3 separate regions of the Homo sapiens genome follow, and regions 1 and 3 are each linked to region 2. The links are contacts of gene promoters, found by promoter capture Hi-C in blood cells and fetal thymus (Javierre and others, 2016). All regions are on one chromosome and are shown on one strand. The core of a region is centred on a gene start or on the middle of the fragment in contact, and the rest is flanking DNA. Distances in the headings are between cores, read along the strand shown.

What was found. Contacts are between HindIII fragments. The CHiCAGO score rates a contact against its expected background, and 5 or more counts as called.
Region 1: a fragment that was not itself captured here is called in contact with the fragment with the promoter of ARHGEF28 in region 2 in 1 of 17 cell types (endothelial precursors); the score reaches 8.3 in endothelial precursors.
Region 3: a contact is called between a fragment that was not itself captured here and the fragment with the promoter of ARHGEF28 in region 2, in 1 of 17 cell types (endothelial precursors). The highest score is 5.4, in endothelial precursors.

The regions. Positions count from the first base shown.
Region 1 is chr5:73,793,588-73,797,280 of GRCh38, forward strand. ARHGEF28 (Rho guanine nucleotide exchange factor 28) reads left to right here. Exons shown (of 36, transcript NM_001177693.2): 8 at 815-867; 9 at 1,744-1,804. Among named protein-coding and RNA genes, the nearest start is that of ARHGEF28, 170 kb to the left of the region's middle. RefSeq lists an enhancer at 2,454-3,653. The HindIII fragment of the contact is 186 bases long and covers 2,023-2,208 here.
Region 2 is chr5:73,624,118-73,627,704 of GRCh38, forward strand. It overlaps ARHGEF28 (Rho guanine nucleotide exchange factor 28), which reads left to right and starts at 2,079. Exons shown (of 36, transcript NM_001177693.2): 1 at 2,079-2,205. RefSeq lists a silencer at 1,788-1,877. The HindIII fragment of the contact is 6,049 bases long and covers 1-3,587 here.
Region 3 is chr5:73,757,943-73,761,579 of GRCh38, forward strand. The region is part of intron 4 of ARHGEF28 (Rho guanine nucleotide exchange factor 28); the gene reads left to right. Among named protein-coding and RNA genes, the nearest start is that of ARHGEF28, 130 kb to the left of the region's middle. The HindIII fragment of the contact is 1,715 bases long and covers 994-2,708 here.

The DNA.
Region 1 (3,693 bases), core at 866-3,365, 170 kb after region 2:
CCCACAATGTTGTATGTTAATGCAAATCTGGGGTAGAGACTTTCAGTCATATGTCCTTGCTAGGGATATCGAGTGCTTTAATTTTCCCCAGGCCCAAACCTGTTCTTGGTGGTTATTTCGACAATAGCGGCTCTTGTTTAAGGGCAACTGAGTATTTGGGAACAGAACCAATCAATTAAACCACAGATAAAAATGCTGCCTTGGGTGAACCTTTTTTTTTTTTTTTTCTTCATCCCAGTACATCCTGACCACTACTGTTTCCAGGAAACCCTTTATTCAGAAAGAGGACACCCGGTGTGCCCGGGGCTGAGGTTGGAGCTGAGGGCTATGCTGGTGTTCTTGACCTTCAGTGATGTGTAAGGAAAAGCCAGACCTCTTATATAATGAATTACGCTCTTTTAAAACATATTGAAATCTGTGGTATTTGAGGAAATAGACATGTGGGATTTCCTCAGGTGGGTACGAGTCACGTCCTTACAATCTGCTATTTTGAAGAACTTGCGGTAGTGAGCAGCCTTCCTTTGGAATCAAGGGCATTTATTTATTTAATGATAATTTTTTCCCCTTCAGGATTTCCTGTGAGAGCTCCTGGGCTTGTTTCCATCTTAGTCCACACAGATAATACCAGAGTATGGACAGTCGGGTTATTAGACACTCTGCTCTGTGGAGAGCTGATTTTTAAGAGGCCTAATCTAAAAACCTATCTCTGTGCAGAAGGCTCCTGGGCAACTCATTTACACTTGTCAGCTAGTAGTTGTTGTTCTTCTTAACAAAAGCTCCCATCAGCAGATCCTGATAATTATTTCTTTTGCAGAGATTAAGAATTCAGTGTCCAGCAGATCAGCAGCTGAAAAGGAAGATATAAAGGTAATGAATGACTCCCTGCTTCTTTCTTTGCACGTCTTTCCATAAAGTAGAAATGAAGATTTAGTGGTAATAAAAATGTTTAAAAAACACTAAAAAAAGGATGTGCCCCAAGTCACTTTCAGAATAATGTGAAATTCTGTTTTCTTTTTCTTTCTTTTTTTTTTTTTTTTGAGATGGAGCCTCGCTCTGTCACCCAGGCTGGAGTACAGTGGCACGATCTTGGCTCACTGCAACTTCTGCCTCCTGGGTTCAAATGATTCTCCTGCCTCACCCTCCTGAGTAGCTGGGACTATAGGCGCCCACCACCACGTCTGGCTAATTTTTGTATTTCTAGTAGAGATGGGGTTTTGCCATGTTGGCCAAGGTGGTCTCGAACTCGTGACCTCAGGTGATCTGCCCGCCTCGGTCTCCCCAAGTGCTGGGATTACAGGCATGAGCCACCGTGCCCAGCCCCATTTTCTTTATCAAATTCTTAATCCCTATTCTTTATAACCAAACCTAGCTATCTTTCTGAGTTGTAGTTGTATATGCAAGATGATTGAATACATTCTGCAAAACAAATTTCTACTTGAAGTTTGATGTTTATAGATATTTGACAACAATGTGATTACAAGAGTAAATGTGGGAGATGTCCTCTGAGAATAAAATAACCTGTGTACAGCTTTCAGGTGTGTTTCAGCTTGGGATAGATTCATTACTCACTTTTAGCTGTTAAATAATATTAAGTATAAGACTAGTTTTCTGTTTACATGTGATGATACTTGTAACATGTTTTCATTGATGCTTTCCAAGGTTGTTTTTCTAGTTCACAAAAATAAACATTAGTGTAGCATATATGTAATTTTTTAAAAATCCACCTGACTTTATCTCTTCCAGCGTGTCAAAAGCCTGGTGGTTCAACACAATGAACATGAAGACCAGCACAGCCTAGATTTGGGTATGAAATAACGCTTTTACCTATACTCGTAGGGGCATCCCAGATCCAGGTTTAGAGTGGACAAGAAGCAAGTAAATTTTAACATAAAATATTCCTTCCTGGTAACCTTATCTATTTCCTGAAACGCATCCAGATAAATTTTATTTGTAGGATCATTTGTAATACTATGACTCTAGAGGTTGAGACTCCATTTACAATCTAAAAAACAAGGCAATCAAAGCTTTTCCTGAACAGTTTTACTCTGAGCCAGAAGCTGGCTCTGGACTTGTCATATGTTCCCTTGTTATTTCTGTGAAGTAGGCACTACCAGTCTCAGGTTCAGGTGAAGCAGTTGAAGCACTGGTGGAGAGTAGATGGTGGAACCGAGACTCATAACTTCATTCCACCTGGCCCTAGAATCTCCAAGCTTACCAAAATCCCATTTTGATGCCCAGTGGGGTCCCCTTGGAGCTGAGCCTATGTGATCTACACTGCTGAGCTCAGGAAAAGACCAGATGTTTGTTCTGGGATTTGAGTCTGATGTGAGTGTCCTTTCAGAGGAACCAGGTGTTCCTCCACCCTTGGCAAGGTAGAGGTATTTCCTCCCTCTGACCTGGGAATTCTCATCTGATTACAATATTCTGTTTCACAACTCCCTGAGGACCCCTTCCTAAATCTCCTCCCAGGTACTCTCTATTTCTTCAAGGCTAATTTGGACCCCAGCCCTATCTCTTGAGTTACTTAGAGGTGAATAGAGCATAATGAAGCTAATGGGGTGTTTGAAGATACAGGCTGAGCTATCAGCAGAGGCTGAGTTTGGGCACCTGGATGTCTGTGAAGACCTCTGGGGCTGACAAGTGAGAGGCAGATGAGCACGAACCACTCCAGTTGGTTTCCTCTGGTTCTGTGAAGCTGAGGCATCTCACACACCTGGAAGGCACACATGGGCAGGACAGTCTTAGAAGTTGCAAGGGGTGAGGTGTTGCTGATGGTAGTGACTGAGGGCTCAAGCTGATGTGAAATCAGGAAAAGCTAAATCAATGCTCAGAGTGAGATTAATGGAGAAGGTGGGTAACCCACGGGGTCACCGTGAGCCTACACGTGCATGGGGCTCCCTGGAGGCTGAGGGAGTGTGGTTGGTATGCTGTGCCAACACACGACAGAGCAGTTACAACCATTCGGAAATCATGCTGTGTAGAGCAGAGCAAGGAGGAAGCACCCTTGGTGTTGGTTGATGGTGTTGCTAGTAGCTTGGCCACATGCCAGAGGTGGTTTCCAGGATCTTGCTGCATGTGGCCCTACTGAAATTGGAACAGAAATTTAGACCCACACTAAGCAATATACACGTCCTTAATATTTTTGCTATTTAAGGTAAGAGTAATGATTTACTTACAGAAGAGGGGAAGAGGAAGGCAAAAAGAGAGCAAACATCTCTGTATAGATGGCTGTTGTGGGCCACTGATGTCAGGGCCATTGCTGTTACTCACGCACACAGGATGTCTCAGCTACAAATTGCATCATGCTCCTGGGAATGTTAGCTTTGAAGAATGTTTGCTAAGATGAATTGCTGGGGGAGGGAGGTAGGCTACTAAAAGTATTAAACACTGAGACGATCTTAATTTCAGGTTTTAAAAACTCACTCTAGTTTCAAACTTGTAAACTTGTGAGCAAGAAGCATGTGCTACGGAAATTGTAGTAGTCTGACCTCGTCTGAGTGTTTTGTCAGTAACATCATTAAGTCTGTGAAGGATTTGAGAAAGATAAATGAGCACAACTTTAGTCCAGTGATTTATGAAAAGGACCATGATGAGTGTTTGTTGTGCTAGCATTTTCTTTTTGGTTCATTTAAACTTTTTGAATTAATAAAGTCCCCTGAGTTTTTGCAAAGGAAATTATAACAGATTTTCAAA
Region 2 (3,587 bases), core at 829-3,328:
TTTTAAGGTTGCTGAAGCAAACACTTTGCTTAATATTTGAACCTAGAGAAGTTGAAAGCCAAGTACGTATTTAAATATTGATCAAGCTCAGGGCTTGAGAGCAGGCAAGAAAACTGCAGCTAGCATTGTATGTCCTTGGGTGGTGAGAGTTTCACAATTACTAGTTTTGCTGGTTTCTTTTTAGTGGGGAAGGGGCTTGGGGGTAACTTCTTATAATATTTGTTCCTCTTTCCACATTTTTTTGTTTTTTAAAAAAAGATACATACCTGCCAGAATTAAAAAAAAAAAAAAAAGAAAAAGAGGGCTTCAGTACTAGTGATATGAAAAAGGACAATAACAACAAAGGCTTCTAACACATCACCATGTTTATTCACCAGAGTTTGGAAACCATTTTTGTCTGGCATGTTGATTCAGTTAATCTTCAGTTCAAGTGATTCTCCTGCCTCAGCCTCTCGAGTAGCTGGGATTACAGGCACGCACCAACACACCCAGCTAAATTGTGTGTTTTTGTGGAGACGGGGTTTCACCATGTTGTCCAGGCTGGTCTCGAGCTCCTGACCTCAGGTGATCCACCCGCCTCAGCCTCCCAAAGTGCTGGGATTACAGGTGTGAGCCACCACGCCCTGCTCAAAATTTTTTCTATTTTTGAAAAGAATATTATTGCTTTTATTTTTATCTTGTGTACCTTGACACTGGGCAGGATATATATATATATTTTTTTTTTCTTTTTTTTTTTTTGTGGCAGCGCCTGAGGCCAGGCCTTGAGTTCACAGCTCTGTGGGGCTGAGGGTGGAATCAGCTGGGATGACAGCCCAGGTCAGGAGTGCAATGCCAGTGTTGGGGTCCCTTTCCCAAGGCGGAATTGCAGCCTTTGCCTTGGAACAGGGCTAAGGCATTCAGACACACGATGGTCTTTCTCTTGCTAATCTCAGCCTTTCTCAGCATTCGTATCAGCAAGGTGGGCTGGGGAAGGTGGCGGCTGGAAGGGAGACAGAAAAGGCCCAGGCCCAGGAGAAGTGGTGGTGGCAGCCTGGGAGCTGGGCTCCATTCTGGCTTGGGATCTTGGTGGCCAGCTTCCTCGGGCCACACCTTTGTTATGGTTCTGTGCGTAGCCAGTCTTCAAAGGAAAAACAAAGCAGAGACTCAAGGTGATTTTATAAATTTTATTAGAAACTTTATATTTCAATACTAATTTCCTTACAAATAGTCTTAACTATAACACTTACTGCCACAGCAGTCTCAGATGGGCAATTTTACCTTTAAAGCTGCAATAATGGTCTTAAGTCTGTATATGAGAGCCTGGCTGATGAAGAGGCTTGGCTTCTGCTCTTGGGGCTGTCATCACATCTAAGAGGAAAACTGCTTTGGAGGATAAGGAAGTCCCTTCACATTGCTGTTCATTGTAAAAGTGGTTATGGTTTTCATACGTTTTTGAATTAAGACTTGCAGCCACTTGCGTGCATAAACGTGAAGGGAATCGCAGCTTGCAAAGCTCTCGGCCAGGGAACATGAGCTTCAAATAAGAGGGCAAATGCTGTTTTTAAAAATAATATTTCCTATTGTAATAGACCCGGGCCGTATTATGTCACGGGTGTGGTGGCTTTTGGCTGGGAACAGCCTGAGCCTCCCTCGGGCCTGGCACAACTCCTTTCGCGAGCGGGCAGCCCAGCGCCTCCCTCGGGAGGCGCCAAGGCGTGGGGGCGCCCGGGGCGCAACTGGCACTCCTGTGGCCCGCCAGGTCCGCGCCAGCCTCCGCGCCTCCGATCTCCGGAGGCCAACGGCCGCAGCCCCGCAGCGGGAGGGGGCTGGCGGAGACAGCGCGGTAGGGGCAGCTTCAGGTTTCCTCCTGGAGCCGGTGTCGGGCGCGGCCGGCGGGCGGGCCTCGCCATGTGATGCGGCCGCCGCGAGCCGGGCCGGGAGGTGGGCAGGCGGGGATCCAGTGGCAGCGGGGAGGCGCGGGGGGAGCGGGGGGAGCGGGGGCGGCACCCGCTGCTGGCGCAGCCAGCCGGGCCCGGGCGCGCGGCCGCGGCTCCACCCCCTAAACCTTGGCTTCAGCCCGGCCGCCGCCAGGCGTTGGCATCGCCGGGGAGAGCCTTCCGGACTCCGGGCGGCGGCTGGCTGGGGGCGCGTTCCGAGGCGCCCTCAGGCAGGGCGCGGGGGCAGAGCCTCGCCTGGGTTCTGGAGGCTGCGGGGCCATCGCTCCAGGTAAATGCTCTTTGGGACTCCATCGTCTGCGTTTCCCTGCAGCTCTGGGCGGAAAAGTTTGTCCACCTGAGTTCGCATCCGCAGGGCCACTTTCTCCAGGGTCCCCAGGGATGCGAGGGTCAGCAGAGGTGACCGGGGAACCGCTGCAGGCGCTGCGGCGCGAGGGCTGGGCGCCGCCTCCCGCTCCCTCGGGAGCGGCAACAAGTGGAGAGGGCGGCGCAGCCTCGTGCGGCGGCGGCAGCTGCGGAGCGCGGGGTCGCTCGGGCGCACTGAGAGCCGGGGGCTGGGCGGGTGAAAGCCCCGCCAGTGTCCTTCGGGAGACAGGGAAATAAACAGCACTCCTGCGGTGGAGAAGGGAGAACGTCGAGAGTTGGTGTCCGCCCTTCCCATCCATGCTTCAGCTCCGGGACTGAGGGTGCTTGGCAGGGCCAGGACCGCAGAATGCAGACGGAACGCAAGCTCAGGACACACGCACTACCACTTACTCGTGTGGAAGCATCTGCTGTGTTTCAAAAGGCATTTATGGTTACCTTGGTTGGGAAAGGTGGTCAGAATTATGTGGGACTCCTTACGCTTATTTTATGGATTTGTTTCCCCTTAAATACCCGGGGTGTATGTGGTGGTGCCCCAGCCTTCCCGTGCTTAGGTTTTCCGAATGACAGGCCGGTGTTTGGCCAAGAAAGCACCATTTGGGTCGAGGGCTGTATGGAAACTGGGTGCTCAGGCGGCCCTGGATACCCAGCTTTGGTTTCCCAGAGACCAGTTAGATTTCTAAGAAAGAATCCATCTCTATAGGCCCACAGCGTCCCCGCATTGGTTGGCTGGGTGGGCCGAGGAACAGTGGCAACATCTGTGTTTGTGCGGCTTCTCCCGCCTTGACCCCTGCCTGGGTATCCACACATCTCCTCACACCAGGAGTTATAGAGGTTCACCACGGACCACACCAATTGGGCAAAATCCAAAGAAAGTAAGATCTTTAATTTTCGTTTATAAAGAACTGATCATTTGGGGTTCCATGGGGCCCCTGGCTTTCTGAAGCGTTGTTATCTTGTGTTCCTAGGCCCTGAAGCTGTCAGGTGTAAGTGAAATCCTGTTTTCACTGCAAAAACAAATCAAGGACCTACCCTTGTTAGGTTCTGTGGCATCTACTTTGTACATGACAATCCAAGCGTAGTGATGACTTCTGGGAAACCTGGGAAGGTTTCTCTAGATCTGTCCTGGGTTTTTAGTTACACATTCCTAAAGCACATGGGTATTTGCCTAATCTTGATTAATAGCCAAAGTAACCCCTTTGGAGTATTTGCAGAAAAGAGATGAATATGGCAAAACCCTTTGGAATTTTTAATACAACATAGTATTTCAATGTAATGTTCTGATGTGGA
Region 3 (3,637 bases), core at 601-3,100, 130 kb after region 2:
TTTGACAATTAGGTTAACTGGGATAACACATTCTAATGTTTTATGTGTTGATGCTCAGATGACTTTGGAGTTGAAAGCCCCCTCGACCTTCCTGCTCCATCAAACTACCTCCCTCCACTTGTGTTCCCAGTAGCTTGATATGGCTGGCAAGCACCAAGCTTGCCAACACCAGTGAGGGGCTGCCATGTGGGTAAAGAACCCAAGGGTACTACAAATGGTATCTCCAAAGACAGATGGCATCGTTCCTGTGAACACAGTAGCTTCTCTCCTAACCTATGGAGTAGGTCGAGCTTGTCCTGGTTAGGATTTCTAATTTAAGAGAAAAATAAAGCCCAGTTCCTTAAAAAAACAAAGAGGTCATATAAAGAATATTTCTCACATATGTTTACACTTACAAACTAATATATAACAATTTGGAAGACTCAAGATATTTTTTGCCAGAGTAAATTACTATTGTTTTCAAAAACGAACTTGGACTCTTCCAGTTGTCTAGGTAAAAGTAGTTCATGTGATCAAAGGTCTCCTAACAGGCAGAAGTTCTTCTGCTCATTATGGAACAGGTGCATTCTTTGTTATATCCATCATAAAAACATAACCAAACCTGTTTATTTTTTATTTTTATTTTTTTTTTGAGACGAAGTCTCACTCTGTTGCCCAGGCTGGAGTGCAGTGGGATGATATTGGTTCACTGTGACCTCTGCCTCCCGGATTCAAATGATTCTCCTGCCTCAGCCTCCTGAGTAGCTGGGATTACAGGTGTGTGCTACCACGCCTGGCTTATTTTTGTATTTTTAGAGATGGGGTTTCACTATGTTGGCCAGTCTGGTCTCGAACTCCTGACCTCAAGTGATTCACCCACCTCGGCCTCGCAAAGTGCCAAACCTGGTTTTGTAAAGGTACTAGCATGAATTGAATCTGCAGGGCAAAAATATTAAAGTGTTTAACAAAACAAAGTATTACCTGGCAGATTGCTTCGTCAGGTTTAAAGAGTTAAGCTTTTCTCCTGCCTTTGTGATTGGTTCTATGAGTGAAAGAAAATTTTAAGGTAACCCAATTGAACTTTTGGAACTCTTCTATAGGAATGTTTTGGACTTCAACACAGCTGATGTATTTAGAGGATCCAGCTTCTCATTCTGTGGGTCCATGGTTGGTTGGAGAGCTGTCCCCAAAGAAAACCAATTGGTGGAACTAGCAGGACCCACTGAGGGTGGCTTAAGAATTGAATATTTTCCAAAAGTCAGATTAAGAGTACACTCCTTAACTTGCAAATAACACCAATAGAGTTATAACAACCACAACAGATTTAAACTTGAATCCAGAAATTAGAGAAATGATTTGTTAGTTTCAAGGACAAATCCAAGTACAAGTCACAGCATAATGAGTAGTAAGTTAAAGGAAATATAGAAAACCTTGTCATGGCCCACACATGTAATGTATAGGTAAAGTAATGTGATGCTCTTACTATGGAGAAGGGTCGTTAGTATAACGCTCTGCTCTTGCCTGAATAGGGTCTTCATAAATTAGTTCCTTTTGAAGGAGAATGTTTGTTTTTCTATGCTTTACACATAATGGAAAGAAAAGGAAAAGAAATACAGAGGCCCGAAAGGACTTTAGAAGACGTTTATAAGAGTTAGGGTTATCTAGCAGTTCTTTTTTTCCCCTAAATTTATTATTATTTTTAATTCAATAGCTTTTTGGGGAACAGTAGATGTTTGGTCCAGCAGTTCTTAAAATGTGTCTTGATTGTTCGGTGTTCACTTAAGTTTAAAAAGCAGTTTTAATATTGCTTCTTATCTGCAGGAAAAGCCATTACATAGGAATTAACAGTTCATTACAAAAGAGTGGATGGGAACTACTCATTTTATGTGACAGCCACATCTTGCTTCAAGCCACATACCCTGAAACTTCTAGGCAACAAGAGAAGGGAATATGTGGCCTAGCAATGTTTGACAGAGAAAAATATCTGTTTCTCTTTCTTTGAATACAGAAAAGAGATCTGTAGCCAGTAGGAAGCAAGATTTGTTTAATGTTTGAAATGGAGCGTGGCTTGTGGTTTTATCTTTGAATACTGTCTGCTGGCTGTAGATATAGAAAGAAAATAGAGCAAGGCCCCAGAGCCTGGCACTGTGGGTTGGCCTGATGACTGCACTGTGTCCAGGTCTTACTAACCAGAGAAGGGCAAACTGATTTATAAGACTTACTTGCTGGCCCACAGATGAAGTAAAATGTCAGCTTTGTTACTCTGCCATAAAGCTCTGTACTGGACAGCAAGTTTGAAATAACATTAGCTGAAACACCAGTGGGTAGGAAACCCATAAAGGACAGATTTATTACAAAATACAAGAAATACAAGTTTCCAGTGTTTTTTTTTTTTTAAGTTTTGAAATCAATACATTATGGGTAACAACTGATTCAGGGGTTTTGTATGTTTCTCTTGGAAATCTTGACATTTTTCAAGGGGTTGTGTACACACTCAGTATTGCTGTCTAGCCTTCTGTCAATTCTGATAGTATCTAATGGGACAAACATCTCTACACCTTTTCTGACATTTCAAGCTGGTAGTATACTCCTTCTGTTGCTAAGGCAACCCACTGGATGAACACTAGGGGTGGAGAGAATGTTCTTTAGATCCTATGGCACTTGTTATGATGGTAAATCGATAAAATTGTTTTACAGTTCTCAGCTATATATATGTATATTATTTGTGAAGCTTTAAATCCTTAATTTTAAAATGTCTTCTTTGTCTTACATTCCTTTTGTAGTTTTTAATTTTTGAGGAATATGTTTTCTGGCAGTAAAGAATTTAATATAGAATTAAACTTCTAAGGAAAAGGACTCCTCTCCCCCCAATCATTTGAATTCATTTTTCAGTTTAAGTAGGTAAACTCTTATTGAACACATTCTCTGTTTAAGGTACTACATGTTAAATAAGAAACAGCAGCTTAACTCTTCCTTAAAAAATAAGCTTCCTACTTTTGTCTGGCAACAATGGCCCTTATACTGGAATAGAGAATTACGCACTTACTCCCACTTCTGGGAAATAGAACGTAGAGTTGGATTCCGGTCACTCTCTCTCCCTCAATTATAATTTTCAAGAACAAAAAATGTAAATGGAAGCAAACAGCCTACCCAATGTGCTTCCCAAAGGATTCGGGACTGTAGAAGGTTTTTGAAGTCCCATTCCTGGCTTACCTCCTCTGGGGCTTTTCTCCCCTTAAAACGTAGCAGGATGCATATAGCAGTTTTTGCTTGCACGCAGAGGATTAAAGCTGAATTTAAAAAATGACAGTAACCAAGGAATATCTTCATAACCTTGAAGGAGAAAGTTAAAATTTTGCTATTCTCATAGATTTCTTAATGGGATTTGAATGCTGGCAGTTGTCCTTGTACTATTTTATCTACAAACCAAATGAAATATTGGTTTGTAGATAAAACATTGGTTTTAAAACTACCAATGTTTGGAGGTTAAAATCCCCACGATTGAAAAAGTTGGGTAGGAGAGATCTGGGGAGGAGAGTGAGGCAGGGAGCCAGAAGAGATGGTACATTCTTAGGGAAATGAATAATTGTGCGTCCTGTTCCAAAGTCCCCCTTTACTTGGCCCAGTGTTGTTTAAGAGGCCTTGTCTTGACTCTCTC